Linked DNA regions of Homo sapiens: all the other regions are linked to region 1. The links are contacts of gene promoters, found by promoter capture Hi-C in blood cells and fetal thymus (Javierre and others, 2016). All regions are on one chromosome and are shown on one strand. Each heading gives the region's core, a stretch centred on a gene start or on the middle of the fragment in contact. The rest is flanking DNA. Distances are from core to core; before and after follow the strand shown.

Region 1 (4,678 bases), core at 1,025-3,524:
GGCAGAGAAGACATCCAGACAAAGAGACACAGAGATACAAGAAAAAAAAAAAAAGCCAGGAGACAGACAGACAGACACAGCCCAGGTGACAGACAGACAGACATAGCCCAGGCGGAGATGGAGACAGAGACGGCCTGTCTTTTAGGGTCCCTTCTTCCCCCACCCTCCTGAGCAGAGACACAGATTCTCAGAGAGAGCCTGGAATGAGGAGGAGGAAGCAAACCTGGGCCCCCAGAAGGAGAGAGACAGACACAGAGCGGTTGATAAAGAGGGGAAACCGAGGCAGGAGGCTAGCAGGCCCGAGAGAGAGGACAGGAGGAACCCAAGGTGGATCCTCGTTCATTCGGTCTGCTCCTGTAGGCTTTCAGAGGGGATCCTGGGGACCACTGCGGATCCCCGGGGGACGTGGCTGCCTGGTGGGCATAGCCCCAGTGGTCGGTGCTCAGGTTGGGGCACTGAAGGGCCAGTCCGCTGAGAGATCGCCCAGCCCGTGCTGGGGAGACCCATGAGGTCCCCCAGATCTACTCATAGAGGGCTCCACGCTTCCCGTCTGTAAAACAGGTGCAGGACAGGGCTAGAGGGCGGAGACCCCTGCAGACTGGGAGCTGGGGTCACTCTGATGCCACCCAGGGAGCCACTCAGCCGGGCAGGGAAGACGCTTCCAGACACTGTCACAGGGAGGCCCAAGCACACCCTCGAAGAGCCGACAGGCAGCCGCGACGCAGTGACACAGGCACCCCCGCTCCAGCACCAGGCCTGGCCGCCACCTGCTCCCTCCCCCTGGGAACAGAAGGGTCCCAGGACTATTTAAGGGAGACAGCCAGGAAGAGAGAGAGAGAGAGAGAGAGAGAGAGAGAGAGTGTGTGTGTGTGTGTGTGTGTGTGTGTGTGAGAGAGAGAGAGAGAGAGCGAGAGACAGAGACGGACAGACAGACGGATGGACAGACAGAGGGAAAGACTGGAGGAAGAGCCTCAGAAAGCCGGAGCCTCCCCCCTGCTCCCTCCGTCCCCCGCCGGCATCCTCCATCCTCCCCCAATCAATTTCTCTCCCACACACTTATTTCTCCCTTCCCAACAGCTCGTCTCTTTCTTTAATTAGAAAGATTTATGCTTCAGAGTCCAAGCCCCCTGCTCTTGTTTTGGGGGTGGCAGGGACGACTCCAGGGTCTCTATTGGAGCTCCTGTCCCCCACTCCCTCCCCCTCCTGTCTGTCTCACTCTGTCTGCACCTCTCTCTCTCTCTCCTCCCACCCGCGTCTGTCTCTGTCTCTCTCTCTCTCTGAATCACACCGTCACTGGAGTTACCTCCCTCCCCACTCCAGTTAGGCCCCATCCCCATCCCAGGTGCCCCCTCCCTCCCTTCCTGCTCTGTCCACGCCCCCCACCACTGGCCGTCAGATGAGGCCGCACTTGCTCCTCTAGGTTTCAGAATCAGCCTGGGCTAAGGGGACCTTAGCATGCACCACCCCCCAAAAAAGCAAATAGAGCCAGAGACTCCTAACCCTTGCATCCCTCACCCCAAGTCTTGGCTGAGGGTGAGGTGGGGGTGGAGCAGACCAAAGGGCCTTGTGTCTTTAATTAAAAAGTGATTTAAATTAATTTTCTGCTCCAAAACCCCTATCTGGGGTGCGCCGGCCTTGAGGAAAGGCAAGGCCTCCAGACCCTTCCCCTCGGACTGCCTTAAACGGCCAGCCTCACCGCAGGACAGCCACGGGGGCAGAGCCCGCCGGCATGGGGACCCCCAGACTCAGCCAAGACCCTGAGTCCTGGCACCCTCTAGCTTAACTGTTTCTCCGTTATCCACAGCCCACCCCCGCCGCCCCCAGCGCACTGCCCATCCTGCAGAGGGGGAATCGAGCCTCAGAGAGGGGAGAGCCTACGGTGGGACCAGACTCCAGATTCCCACGTGACCCCTGGAGATGGCCAGGGAGGGGGTCCGTGGTGTGTCCAGGGGGCTCGGAGAACAGAGAGCCAGAGGAGAGAAAGGACGGGAGAAGCGGAGACAGAGAGAGACAAGGAGAGAGAGACTGGGAAAGAGGGAGACTGAGAAACCCGGAGCAGGAACCCCAGCCCTGGGTAGGAGAGGAGGGGCCTGGGGGCACCAGGGCCGCGGTCTCTTCCTCTCCTCCCCCCACAGCCTGCCCCTCCCCGACTCCCACCGGAAGTGCTGCTGCTGCCCTAACCCCAATCCCTCGTGCTGTAGCTCTGCAGGCTCACTCTGGCTCATCCCCTATCCCGCTCCTTGGTGGTTCTGTTTAATTTCCACAAGACAAGGGAGAGACCGGGAACGGGGAGCGCGGCTGCCAGCACCCCTGAGCCGCCGCCGGACCCTCCGTCGCCCCGGGCCGCCCCCCGCCCCCTGCGGTCCCCGGTGTGTCCGTCTCGGGACGGTTCGATTCCCTCCAGAGCCGGGGAAGGGACGGGGGGGGCCCAGAGGAGGGGGCCTCGGGCGCCCCGCCTGCGCCTGCTGCCCCCGCCCCGGCGGCGATGCGCTCCTGGCCGTGACCCCCGCTGGGGGCGGGGGCCGGGGTCCATGCGCGGAGTCCCCACCCGGCCCGGCGCCTGCCGCTGACGGCGGCGGGGGTGGGGGGGCGCGCGCCTGGCCTCCTGCCCACCCCCTGGCGTCAACACCGCGGGCCGTCAGGGGCTGCGGCCCCGGGCTGCGCCCTCCCCCGCGGCCAGGCTCTGGAGGGACCCAGGAGCTGCCGCCGGCCTCAGCCCATGGCCCGGAGGGTAGGTCTCGGGGCGGGGACCCCGCGTCCCGGCCGCTTCCGCACCCCCTGTCCCTGCATCCCCCACTCTCCGGCGCTGGCCCCCATTAGCCCATCCGTCCTCTACACCACCTCGCTCTCTCTCTGCCCCTCCCTCCGCCCCTGGGTCTCCCAGTCCCTGTGTGCCCCCTCTCTGCCCCCAAGTGTCTCTTCCTGGCCCTCGGCCTCGCCTCCTCCCCATCGTTTAGCTTCTCCTTCTCCCTGCCCCTCTGTCCCCCTCTGTCTGCCCCACTCTCCTCCTCCTTTCTGCCTCTCTGTCCCCCTCTCTCTGTCCCTGGTCTCCCCCCTCTTTCTGCCTCTCTATCCCCCTCTCTCTGCCCTCCCCCACCCGCAGTCTCTCTCCTCTGTTCCTGGGCTTCCTCCTCCATCTCAGCCGCCCGCACCTCACCGTCCCCCCTTTTTTCTGCTCTCCTCCGTCCTTCCCTTCGCTCTACTTTTGTTCCAAGCCGCCCCTGCCTCTCCAGGGCTAGGAGTGGGACAGGGGTGGGAGAGGTGGTCTCACCAGGCTGCTGGCCCCACGGAGCCTGTCTCCCTGGGGATGGGAACGGGGATAGAAGACAGGGGAGGAGGCGCGCGCCCGTTTTGGGGGTTCCGGGTAGGCTGTGAGGACCGCTTTTGGTGAGAGTGCCTTGAGCAGCGGGGAGCAGTTGGATTCAACTTCAGGGCACAGGAGAAGTTAGGAGAAGAGGGAGAGGGAAAGAGTGGGACACACAGAACCAGGGTGCCCAGCCAGGCGAGGGTCCGAGGCAGGAACGTTCTAGCCTCTTCCCGTGCGAGTCCTGCTGCCTCTTTGAGCCTCCGTGTCTTCATCACTGAGGAAGGGATTTGACCTGATGAGAGGAAGGTGCCCCTGGCTTCCCAGGTGCATGGTTCTGTGACGACAGGACGCGGTCGTCCTACCCCATAATGGTGTTTCTCTTGGGTGCGCAATCGTGTCTGTATGGTGGTGCGGAGTGACCCTCTCCGGCAACAAGTGCTCACAGCATGAGCCAGGCCCTGTGCTAAATGCCTCATTCATTCATTCATCCATGTGCCAAATGTCTCAATCATGCATTCATTCTTGTGCCTGGTGTTGGGCTGTGTGCATGTGTGTGTGCATGTGTGTGTGGGGGGGGGGATTTGGGTGTGACTGACACATGAGTGTGCACGTGGGTTGGTGTGTATGGCTGTGTCTACATGTGTGGTAGATTCACGTGGCGAGTGGAGTGTGACATGTTGTTGAGACTTACTCTGATGCGCTTATCTGCCAACTGTGAAATGAAATAGAAGACAGGGAGGCTTCGTATGTGTACTTTGTGTACAACAATGCGCGGTTCCTACAGGAGGTGTCCATGGATCTCCCTCTCTGTCTGTCTCTCTCTCTGTCTCTGTCACTGTCTTCTCACGCCACTTTCTCCATCTCTTTTCCCTCCCAGCCAGACCCTGCCGTCTCTCCCTCTGGGTCCTCCTGCCCACATGTCAGGAATCTCTGCCTGGACGGGGTCCTCACTCCCCACCGAGGCAGCTCCAGGGGACCTGGAGGGCTTCAAGCTTGGGGGCTCAGACACCTGGGGACCACAGGCAGGTTTCTGGGACACAGAAGGGCATCTCCTGGGTTCCAGGATAGAGAAGCTCCTCAGCCGAGTCTCGGGGTGCTGACCCCTCCCTGGGGCTCCGCCCTTCTCTTCTCACCTTCCCCCAGTATGATGAGCTGCCGCACTACCCAGGCATCGTGGATGGCCCCGCAGCCCTGGCTAGCTTCCCAGAGACAGTGCCCGCAGTACCAGGGCCCTATGGCCCGCACCGGCCTCCCCAGCCCCTGCCCCCAGGCTTGGACAGCGACGGCCTGAAGAGGGAGAAGGATGAGATCTATGGGTGAGTGGGGCCGGGTCTCAGGCTCCTGTCTCTCTCTCTCTGTCTTTCTGCTTCT
Region 2 (4,678 bases), core at 1,604-4,103, 290 kb before region 1:
TGAGACCCCCATCTCTACAAAAAAAATAATTAGCTGGGCATGGTGGTGCATGCCTGTAGTCCTAGCACTTTGGGAGGCTGAGGCAGGAGGATTGCTTGAGCTCAGGAGTTCAAGGCTGCAGGCTGCAGTGAGCTATGATCATGCCGCTGCACTCCAGCCTGGGCTACAGAGTAAGACCCCATCTCAAAAAAAAAAAAAAAAAAAAAGGCCAGGCACAGTGGCTCATGCCTGTAATCCCAGCACTTCGGGAGGCTGAGGCAGGTGGACCACCTGAGGTCAGGAGTTTGAGACCAGCCTGACCAATATGGTGCAATCCTGTCTCTACTAAACATACAAAAAATTAGCCAGGCCTGGTGGTGGCCACCTGTAGTCCCAGCTACTTGGGAGGCTGAGACAGGAGAATCACTTGAACCCAGGAGGCAGAGGTTGCAGTGAGCCGAGATCCCGCCACTGCACTTGACAGAGCGACACTCCATTTCAAAAAAAATAGGGAGATCGTAGCGAACCAGCTGAAGGAGGAGAAAGATTAATGGTGACATGGTTGAAGAAGGGGGATTGATGGTGGTAGTGGAAGACCAAGAGATGGACAAGGCGAAGGATGCAGAAGCTGCCTGGAAGAAACGGATTCCTTAATCGCTTCATTCATTTCTTCCTCCCTTCTCCCTTCCATCATTTGACACCTTTTCACTGAAATCACTCACTCCATGCTTCAGGCACTGTGGACCCAGAAATGAGCCAGAGATCATCCCCTACCCACCCAGGGCCCCCAGTAAGGACCCAGACACATGCCAGACATCCAGAGGAGGGCATGAGAAACAGACCACAGCACCAGTAAGACTCAGGGCAGGGTTGACTTTTGAGCTGCTCCATGAAGAGCAGGCAAGACAAGGGGATTTAGGCAGAGAGGACGGTGCGTGCAAAGGTCTGGGGATGTGAAAGGTCCTGGTGTACTGGGAGCCATGAAACATCTGGGTAGGTGGCCAGACACAGGGGCACAAAGAGGAGGGGTGAGAAATGGAGCTGAGAAGGTTGCCTGGGTGCACCCAGGTCATGAGGGCTGTTGGGTGTTAACAAGAAAAATAATGCAACATTTATGATCACTGCATGCCAGGTACTGTACTAACTCACTTAACATTTATAACCCTGTAAAGTAGGTCTATTATCATCCCTGCTTTGCTTTGCTTTTCTTTCTTTTTATTTATTTATTTATTTATTTATTTATTTATTTATTTATTTGGAGATGGAGTCTCACTCTGTAGCCCAAGCTGGAGTGCAGTGATACAATCTCAGCTCACTGCAGCCTTCACCTCTGGGGCTCAAGGGATTCTCCTGCCTCAGCCTCCCAAGTAGTTGGGACTAGAGGCATGCACCACCACACCCAGTTAATTTTTTTTTGTATTTTTAGTAGAGATGGGTTTCACCATGTTGCCCTGGGTGGTCTCGAACTCCTGAGCTCAGGTGATCCACCCACCTCAGCCTCCCAAATTGTTGGGATTACAGGTGTGTGCCACCATGCCGGCTCATCTCTGCTTTTTTAACAAGGCAAAGGAGGCTCAGGAAGACAGCAATAAATTACCCAAGATCACTTAGCTGGAAAATGCTCAAGCTGGGACTCAAACACAGGCAGCCTGACCTCAGAGGTTGCAATCCTATTATAGGTCTAAAGATCTGAGTTAGGGAGGTTAGCCATGACCAACCCAGGAGCAATGAGCACCTCCAGCACCCAGACTGTGTTCTCTATCTTCCCTTACTAGCCTTTTATTCACCGTAGGATCTGTAGTGATGTCCCCTCTTTCATTCCCGATATCAGCCACAGGTGTGGGTATTTGCTTTTTTTAAAAAAGAAAAACAAAAACGATTGCTCCCCGTTGATGCTTATGATTTTACTGATCTTTTCAAAGAATCAACTTTTGGTGAGATGGGAGTCTCTAAATACCATTCCCCACTAAAAGAACCTGGGACTCCTTAGAGAAATGGTGGATTCCAGGGCGGGGGCAGGGAAGAACAAGTGAGCCTGGGTCAGAAGGTGAGGAAGTGCTCAAAGGCCGATAGGGCATGTTACAGGGACAGAGGACCCAGCTTGCAGGGGTGCCCAGTGGCCAAACATGGGGCAATTTGAGCATCAAAATAACTGCAAATCAAATATGCTAAAATCCATAAAATCATGAGACTTAAAAGGGGTGGCCAGGGAGTAGGGGAGATAAAAGCAAAAGGAGTTCGTAAAGGAGTGGCAAGAATGGAAAAGAGAGGCAGGATCTGGGATGTGGGCAGAGGGAGAGGGCTCTGGGCGGTGTCCCAGGCAGGGAGGGCCCTGAGAGAGAGCTGGGGAGAATGCTATCAGCGGTGGCCGATGGAGCTGGTGAGGCAGGAGAGGGGCTCTTGAGTGGCTGGAGGGACCAAGTTAGCTGATATGGATGAGGGCGTGGAGGGAGACCCTGCAGAGAGGATCTCTTCTAGCCCAGGGGATAGGGAGGGGTGTTGGGGGAGGATGGAGGAGACTGGGGGAGTGTGAGAGGCTGCGAAAGACTGGAGGAAGAGTGGGAGGAAGAGTGGGAGGAGTGGGAAGAGTGGGGGACATGGTTACAGACTGGGGGGACTGGTGAAGACTGGGGGACACCTGGGGAGACCGTTACAGACTGGGGACAGGGTGGCAGGGAGCAGGGGTCAGGCATGAGGAACCAGGGCAGGCTTGGGCGGGGGTCGGGAGGCGACAGCTGCGGTGCTGGGAGCACTCACCGACGGGGCGCGCTGGCGGCTGCAGCGGGCTGGGCAGGCTGGGAGAGGGTGGGGTCCCGCGAGGATCCGAAGCGCCCGCGGAGCGGCCTGTGCTCGCGGTCCCGTCCGGAGCCGTCTGAGCCGGGTGGGGCCCGGAGCGGGGAGGACGGGAGGGAGGACAGGAGGGAGGGGCGGGACGAGGCGCCCCCCTCAAAACCGGGCGCCCGGCCTCTGGCGCCCCCTTGTGGGGAGTGGGGAAGACGCCTTAGCACGGCGGGCGAGAGCTCCAGCGTCCAGCCTGGGGTTCGAATTCCGCCTCCACCTCCAGCGTTGGGCTGCTCCCCAGTCTGTCTCTCTTCTTAACACGGGAATCACAACAGCAGCAGCAATAATAGTAACAATAACAGGTCGGGCGCCCTGGCTCACGCCTGTAACCCTAACACTTTGGAAGGCCAGGGTGGGAAGATTGCTTGAGGCCAGGAGTCCAAGACCAGCCTGGACAATATAGCGAGACCCCATGTCTATTAAAAATAATAATAAATAATAAAATAATTTAGCCAGGCACAGGGGTGCACACCTGTGATCCCAGCAACTTGGAAAGCTGAGGTGGGAGGATAGCTTGAACCCAGGAGGTCAAGGCTGCAGTGAGCTATGATTGTGCCACTGCACTCCAGCCTGGGTGACAGAGCGAGACCTCACCTCTAAAAAAAATAATAGGACGGGGCGCGGTGGCTCACGCCTGTAATCCCAGCACTTTGGGAGGCCGAGGCGGGTGGATCACTTGAGGTCAGGAGTTCAAGACCAGCCTGGCCAACATGGTGCAAACCCATCTCTACTAAAAATACAAAAAAATTAGCTGGGCGTGGTGGCGGGCGCCTGTAGTCCCAGCTATTTGGGAAGCTGAGGCAGGAGAATCACTTAAACACAGGGGAGGTGGAGCTTGCAGTGATTGCGCCACTGCACTCCAGCCTGGGGACAGAGCAAGACTCCATCTCAAAAATAAATAAATAAACAAAAATTAGCTGGATGCAGGCACGCACCTGTAGTCCTAGCTACTTGGGAGGCTGAGGCTCCCAAGTTCCAGAATCACTGGAACCCAGGAGGCAGAGGTTGCAGTGAGCCAAGATCACGCCACTGCACTCCAGCCTGGGTGACAGAGTGAGAATCCATCGCAAATAAATAAGTAAATATAATATTAATATTAAAACTTAAGGGAGTTGATGAAACTTCTCAGCTGACAACCCTCCCTGGCTCTCCTCTCTCTCAGAGTAAAAGCCGAAGTCCACACCAAGGCCCACAAAGCCTAGCATGATCCACCTACATCTCCCCTGTCCCCCTTCCTCAGGCGGCTCCAACCGCCGTGGCCTCCTCACCATTCCTCAGACACACCCCCAACCCTCCAAGTTCATGGCCTTTGCACTTGCTGACTCCTCTCCATGGAGTACTTTCCCCATAGGGATCTGAATGCCTCACTCTCTCCCCTCCTTCAGGTCCCTGCTCAAATGTCACCTCCTCAGAGAAGTCCTCCAGGATCACCCTGGCTAAGGTAGAACCCACTCTCTACCTCTTATCACTGCCCTATTTTTCTCCACAGCCCTCCCAACCACTCTGCATATTCCACATTTCTCTGCCTAAGGGACTGTCTTTGCCCTGAGAACATGAGCCCCGTGAGGGCTTTGCACAATGCCCAACTCCCTGCAGGGGCTCAGTAAACATTTGTAGAAACAATCCCTAATGTTGACTGAGCCATTCCTATGTGCAGGCACCGCTCTGAGCTCTTTGCATGCATGTATTAGCTCATCGAACCCTCATCATATCTCCAAGAAACAGGAGTTTTGGGGTTTTGGTTTTTGTTTTTGTTTTTGAGACAGTCTTACTCTATCGCCCAGGCTGGAGTGCAGTGGCACGATCTCAGCTCACTGCAACCTCCGCCTCCTGGGTTCAAACTATTCTCCTCCCTCAA
Region 3 (4,678 bases), core at 721-3,220, 270 kb before region 1:
TATCTTGACCTCGTGATCCACCCAACTCGGCTTCCCAAAATGTTGGGATTACAGGCATGAGCCACTGTGCCTGGCCAGAAAAAATTTTTTTTTACCAACTGCTTGCACACAGTGGTATTACATGTGACTTATTTTTCTTCTTTGTTCTTTTCTGTATTTTCTACATTCTCTAAATGAGCACAAAATTATTATTATTATTTGGTCTTCAACTGCTAGCCTCAAGTGATCCCCCATCTTAGCTTCCCAAAGCAAAAAAACTAACATATGAGTGGATTGTTCACCAAGAGATTCCCTCCTTCTCTTCCTTCCATTTCTTTCTTTCTTCAGAAATGAGATCTCGCTATGTTGTTCAGGCTGACCTCAAACTCCTGGGCTCAGGTGATCCTCCTGCCTCAGCCTCCCTCCTGAGTAGCTGGGACTACAGGCATGAGCCACCACGCCCAGCTTCCAAGAGATTTCGAGAGCCCCACGTGGAGGCGGCAAGATGCTCAACTTCACACACAATTAGAGAAAAGCACAGGGGGTGTGTCACTTTCCAGCCTGGCAAAGAACAGGCCAGCTGCTAATCTCGTGTGTCAGTAAAGCTGCAGGACCAAGTGAAGCCATCACTGGCATGAACCTTTTCAAAAAGGTTTAGCACTTTCCACAAAATGGCTGGAAAGCTTATCATCTACGTCTGGCAATTCTATTTCTAGAAATTTACCCTACAAGTACTTTCATACCTGTGTGCAAAGCATGGGTGCAAGTTTTTTTTTTTTTTTTTGAGGCAGAGTCTCACTCTGCTGCCTAGGCTAGAGTGTAGTGGCACGATCTCAGCTCACTGCAACCCTCTCTAGGCTCACTACAATCTCCGCCTCCCAGGTTCAAGGGATTCCCCTGCCTCAGCCTCCCAAGTAGCATAGCTGGGATTACAGGTGCCCACCATCACGCCTGGCTCATTTTTGTATTTTTAGTAGAGATGGGGTTTCCCCATGTTGGCCAGGCTGGTCTCACACTCCTGACCTCAGGTGATTGCCCGCCTCGGCCTCCCAAAGTGCTGAGACTACAGGTGTGAGCCAACACGCTCAGTCAAGAATATCTTATAGGAGTTTTGTTTGTTAACAATGACAAATAAACCACCTGAAGTATTCCTCAAGAGGGGACTGAATAAAGAAATAATGGTATGTCCATATCACAAAACACAATAAAGACATCAAAAGAAAGAGGCAAACTATAGCCCACAAGCCAAGAATAATTTTTACATTTTTAAACAGTTGAAGAAAAAAAATCATAAGAATACTATTTCGTGACTTGCAAAAATTACATGAAATTCCAATTTCAGTGTCCTTAAATAAAGTTTTATTGGAACACTCCCGTGTTCATTCATTTACATATGGTCTGTGGCTGCTTTTGTGCTATAATAACAGAGACCATATGGCCCGCAAAAGCCTGAAACGTTTACTATTGCCTCTTTATAGAAAGTTGCCCAGAAAAATAAACAAATAAATGAATAAAAATCAAATAAGCAAAAAGAAAGTTTGCCTGGCTTCTTTCCCTTCATAGCTCTTTCAACATGCCCAACTCTGTTCTAAAACATTTTAATGTTAATATACATCTATTAATTTACAGATATTAGTTTATTTAACCCTCACAGCTCTACAAAGTAGCCGCTGTTCCTATCATTCTGATTCTGCACGCAAGGACACCGTGGTACAACAGAGAGGCAAGCAGCCTGCTGAAGGTCACAGGGCCTGTAAGTGGCCAAGTCCTATTTCCTAACTCCCACATCACAGCAATCTTCCCAGATGGTAGCTTGCAAAAAAACCCCCAAAAATAAAAACACACCCCTACACATAGTAACCATTGGTAATGGCTCAAGTCATCTTAGGGAGTTGGAACCAGCACTTAAAAAGAACAGTAGAGGCTGGGCGCAGTGGCTCACGCCTGTAATCTCAGCACTTTGGGAGGCCAAGGTGGGCAGATCACCTGAGGTCAGGAGTTTGAGACCACCCTCGGCAACATGGTGAAACCTTGTCTCAACTAAAAATACAAAAATCAGCTTGGCATGGTGGGGCACTCCTGTAATCCCAGCTACTTGGGAAGCTGAGGCAGGAGAATCGCTTGAACCTGGGAGGTGGAGGTTGCAGTGAGCCGAGATAGTGCCACTACACTCCAGCCTGGGCAGCAGAGGGAGACTCCATGCCTCCCCGCTAACCCCAGAAAAAACAATGGAAACAAAATAGAAAATATTGATGTGTATCACACATTGTAATATAGGTAATATTTCATGAAACTTTTGTTTCAGTGATATGTGTATATATACAAATACATATATGTATGCATGTCCTGGGTGGTGACATAAAATGAAATTCTTGTGCCGGGCATGGTGGCTCATGCCTGTAATCCCAGGACTTTGGGAGGCCAAGGCAGACAGATCACCTGAGGTAAGGAGTTCAAGACCAGCCTGGCCAACATGGAGAAAACCTGTCTCTACTAAAAATACAAATATTAGCTGGATGCGGTGGCGTGCGCCTGTAGTCCCAGCTACTCGGGAGGCTGAGGCAGGAGAATCGCTTGAACCTGGGAGGTGAAGGTTGCAGTTAGCCAAGATCGTGCCACTGCACTCCAGCCTGGGTGACAGAGAAAAAAAAAAAAAAACAAATTCTTATCCCGGGTGGTGGGTCAAGGAAAAAAAAAGGTCTGAAAGCCAGTGCTCCAAGATGCGTTGCTAAATAAGCAAAGCCAGATGCAGAACACAGTCTTTGCATTTCTGTTTGTGTTAACACAAAGGGAAAATGTACGCATGCGCGCGCGCGCGCACACACACACACACACACACACACACACACACACACACACACACAGAGGCTGCCAAATCCATCTGGGTACAGAGAGCACAGAGTTCCTTCCGAGTGCAGGGGTTGGAGTTCGGACAGTAAGGGAACCACTATTCTTACAAACAGTAAGAATCACCCAGATTGGGAACTGCTATTCCGTGCATTCCTGCATATCCACAGGATAGCGGTTCCCAGTCTGGATGATTCTGTCCCCACCAGGGGACACTTGGCCAATCACCCAGTCACACACCCACCCATGCCATCCATCCGTCCGTCTATTCAGCCATCCATCTGTCCATCCATTTGCTCACCCAACAAACATTCACTGACCACCTTCTGTCATGCTGGGTCCCCACTGCTGCAGATACAGCTACTGCGGAGGGCCCTACCTTGTGCCTCCGAGCCTCTGTGTGTGACTAAGAATCAGCTCGTGTGCACACCTGCCTGTGCGCACTAAGCTTCCTTCTCAAAGGTCATCCGCGTGGCCAGGCACAGTGGCTCACGTCCATAATCCCAGCCCTGTGAGAAGCCAAGGTGGGAGGATTACTAAGCCTAGGAGTTCGAGACCAGCCTGGGCTGCATAGTGAGACCCCATATCTCCCCCACAAAACAAAATACAAAAAAAAAAAAAATTAGCTGTGCGTGGTGGCACATGCCTGTAGTCCCAGCTACTTCGGAGGCTGAGGTGGGAGGATCACTTAAGCATGGGAGGCGGAGGTTGTAGGAGTCAATATTGCACCAGTGTACTCCAGCCTGGGTGACAGAACCAGACCCTGTTTCCAAAAAAATAAGTTCAGCTACAGCATCATTACTGCAACTGCTAACAGTAAGTGTCTGTTCACTGAGCGCTGGCTCTGTGCAGTGCCATCATGTCAGGTCACTGGGCTTATTCCCATTTTAGATGCAAAATCCATGCCTCAGAGAGCTCCACTAAGCAGAGCTGGATTCACACCCAGGTCTGGCTTTCTCAAGACTTCAGGTGTTTCCAGCAATAAGCCCCCAGGGTTTTTAATCCAGGCCCTACCATTTGCCAGCTGTGCAACCTTGGGCAAGCTAATTATTCTCCCTGTGCCTCTGTTTCCTCACCTGCAAAATGAGATGCTACCACCTACCTGGTGGAGGTGGTGAGGTTTAAATGAGAGAGTGCTAGGCCGGGCGCGGTGTCTCACACCTGTCATCCCAGCACTCTGGGAGGCTGAGGTGGGTGGATCACCTGAGGTCAGGAGTTTGAGACCAGCCTGGCCAACATGGCGAAACCCCATCTCTCTACTAAAAATATAGAAATTAGCCAGGCATGGTGGCGGGCGCCTGTAAATCCCAGCAATTTGGGAGGCCGAGGCAGGTGGTTCACCTGAGGTCAGGCGTTTGAGACCAGCTTGGCCAACATGGTGATACACTATCTCTACTAAAAATATGAAAATTAGCCAAACATGGTGGCAGGCACCTGTAATCCCAGCTACCCAGAAGCTGAGGCAGGAGAATCACTTGAACCCAGGAGGTGGAGATTGCAGCGAGCCGAGATCTTGCCACTGCACTGCAGCCTAGGCGACGGAGTGGGACTCTGTCCCCCTCAAGATAATAGTAATAATAATAAAAGCAAACATTTATCAAGTGCTTACTTTGTGCTAAGCATATAGTAACTCGTTTACTCCACCTAAGTGCTCCCTCAGCCTGCCTAGGCACCTGCTGATGGAATGAAAAACTGGTTGCTGAAGGTTAAATGGTAAGTGGGAGAGCGTGCAAGTGAAACCATGGCCGTTCGAGGTCAAAGCCTGTGCTGACTTCTGCCATCCTGCCCTTGTCACTGTCACACTCTCCTCTTCCTACCTATCCACTGGTCTTTTTTGAATGAGTACCACATT

The links. The method cuts DNA at HindIII sites, captures the fragments that hold promoters and counts their contacts. A CHiCAGO score of 5 or more calls a contact.
Region 2: a contact is called between the fragment with the promoter of EHD2 here and the fragment with the promoter of MEIS3 in region 1, in 4 of 17 cell types (neutrophils, erythroblasts, naive CD8 T cells and 1 more). The highest score is 9.3, in neutrophils.
Region 3: a fragment that was not itself captured here is called in contact with the fragment with the promoter of MEIS3 in region 1 in 5 of 17 cell types (erythroblasts, neutrophils, endothelial precursors and 2 more); the score reaches 5.6 in erythroblasts.

What each region holds. Positions count from the first base shown.
Region 1 is chr19:47,417,123-47,421,800 of GRCh38, reverse strand. It overlaps MEIS3 (Meis homeobox 3), which reads left to right and starts at 2,274. Exons shown (of 13, transcript NM_001301059.2): 1 at 2,274-2,731; 2 at 4,451-4,623. The coding sequence starts at 2,720. RefSeq lists enhancers at 2,194-3,187, 3,188-4,180. The HindIII fragment of the contact is 31,601 bases long and covers 1-4,301 here.
Region 2 is chr19:47,711,597-47,716,274 of GRCh38, reverse strand. EHD2 (EH domain containing 2) reads right to left here and starts at 2,853. Exons shown (of 6, transcript NM_014601.4): 1 at 2,737-2,853. RefSeq lists a silencer at 2,877-2,976. The HindIII fragment of the contact is 37,601 bases long and covers 1-4,678 here.
Region 3 is chr19:47,683,907-47,688,584 of GRCh38, reverse strand. The region is part of intron 7 of BICRA (BRD4 interacting chromatin remodeling complex associated protein); the gene reads right to left. Among named protein-coding and RNA genes, the nearest start is that of EHD2, 27 kb to the left of the region's middle. The HindIII fragment of the contact is 2,612 bases long and covers 665-3,276 here.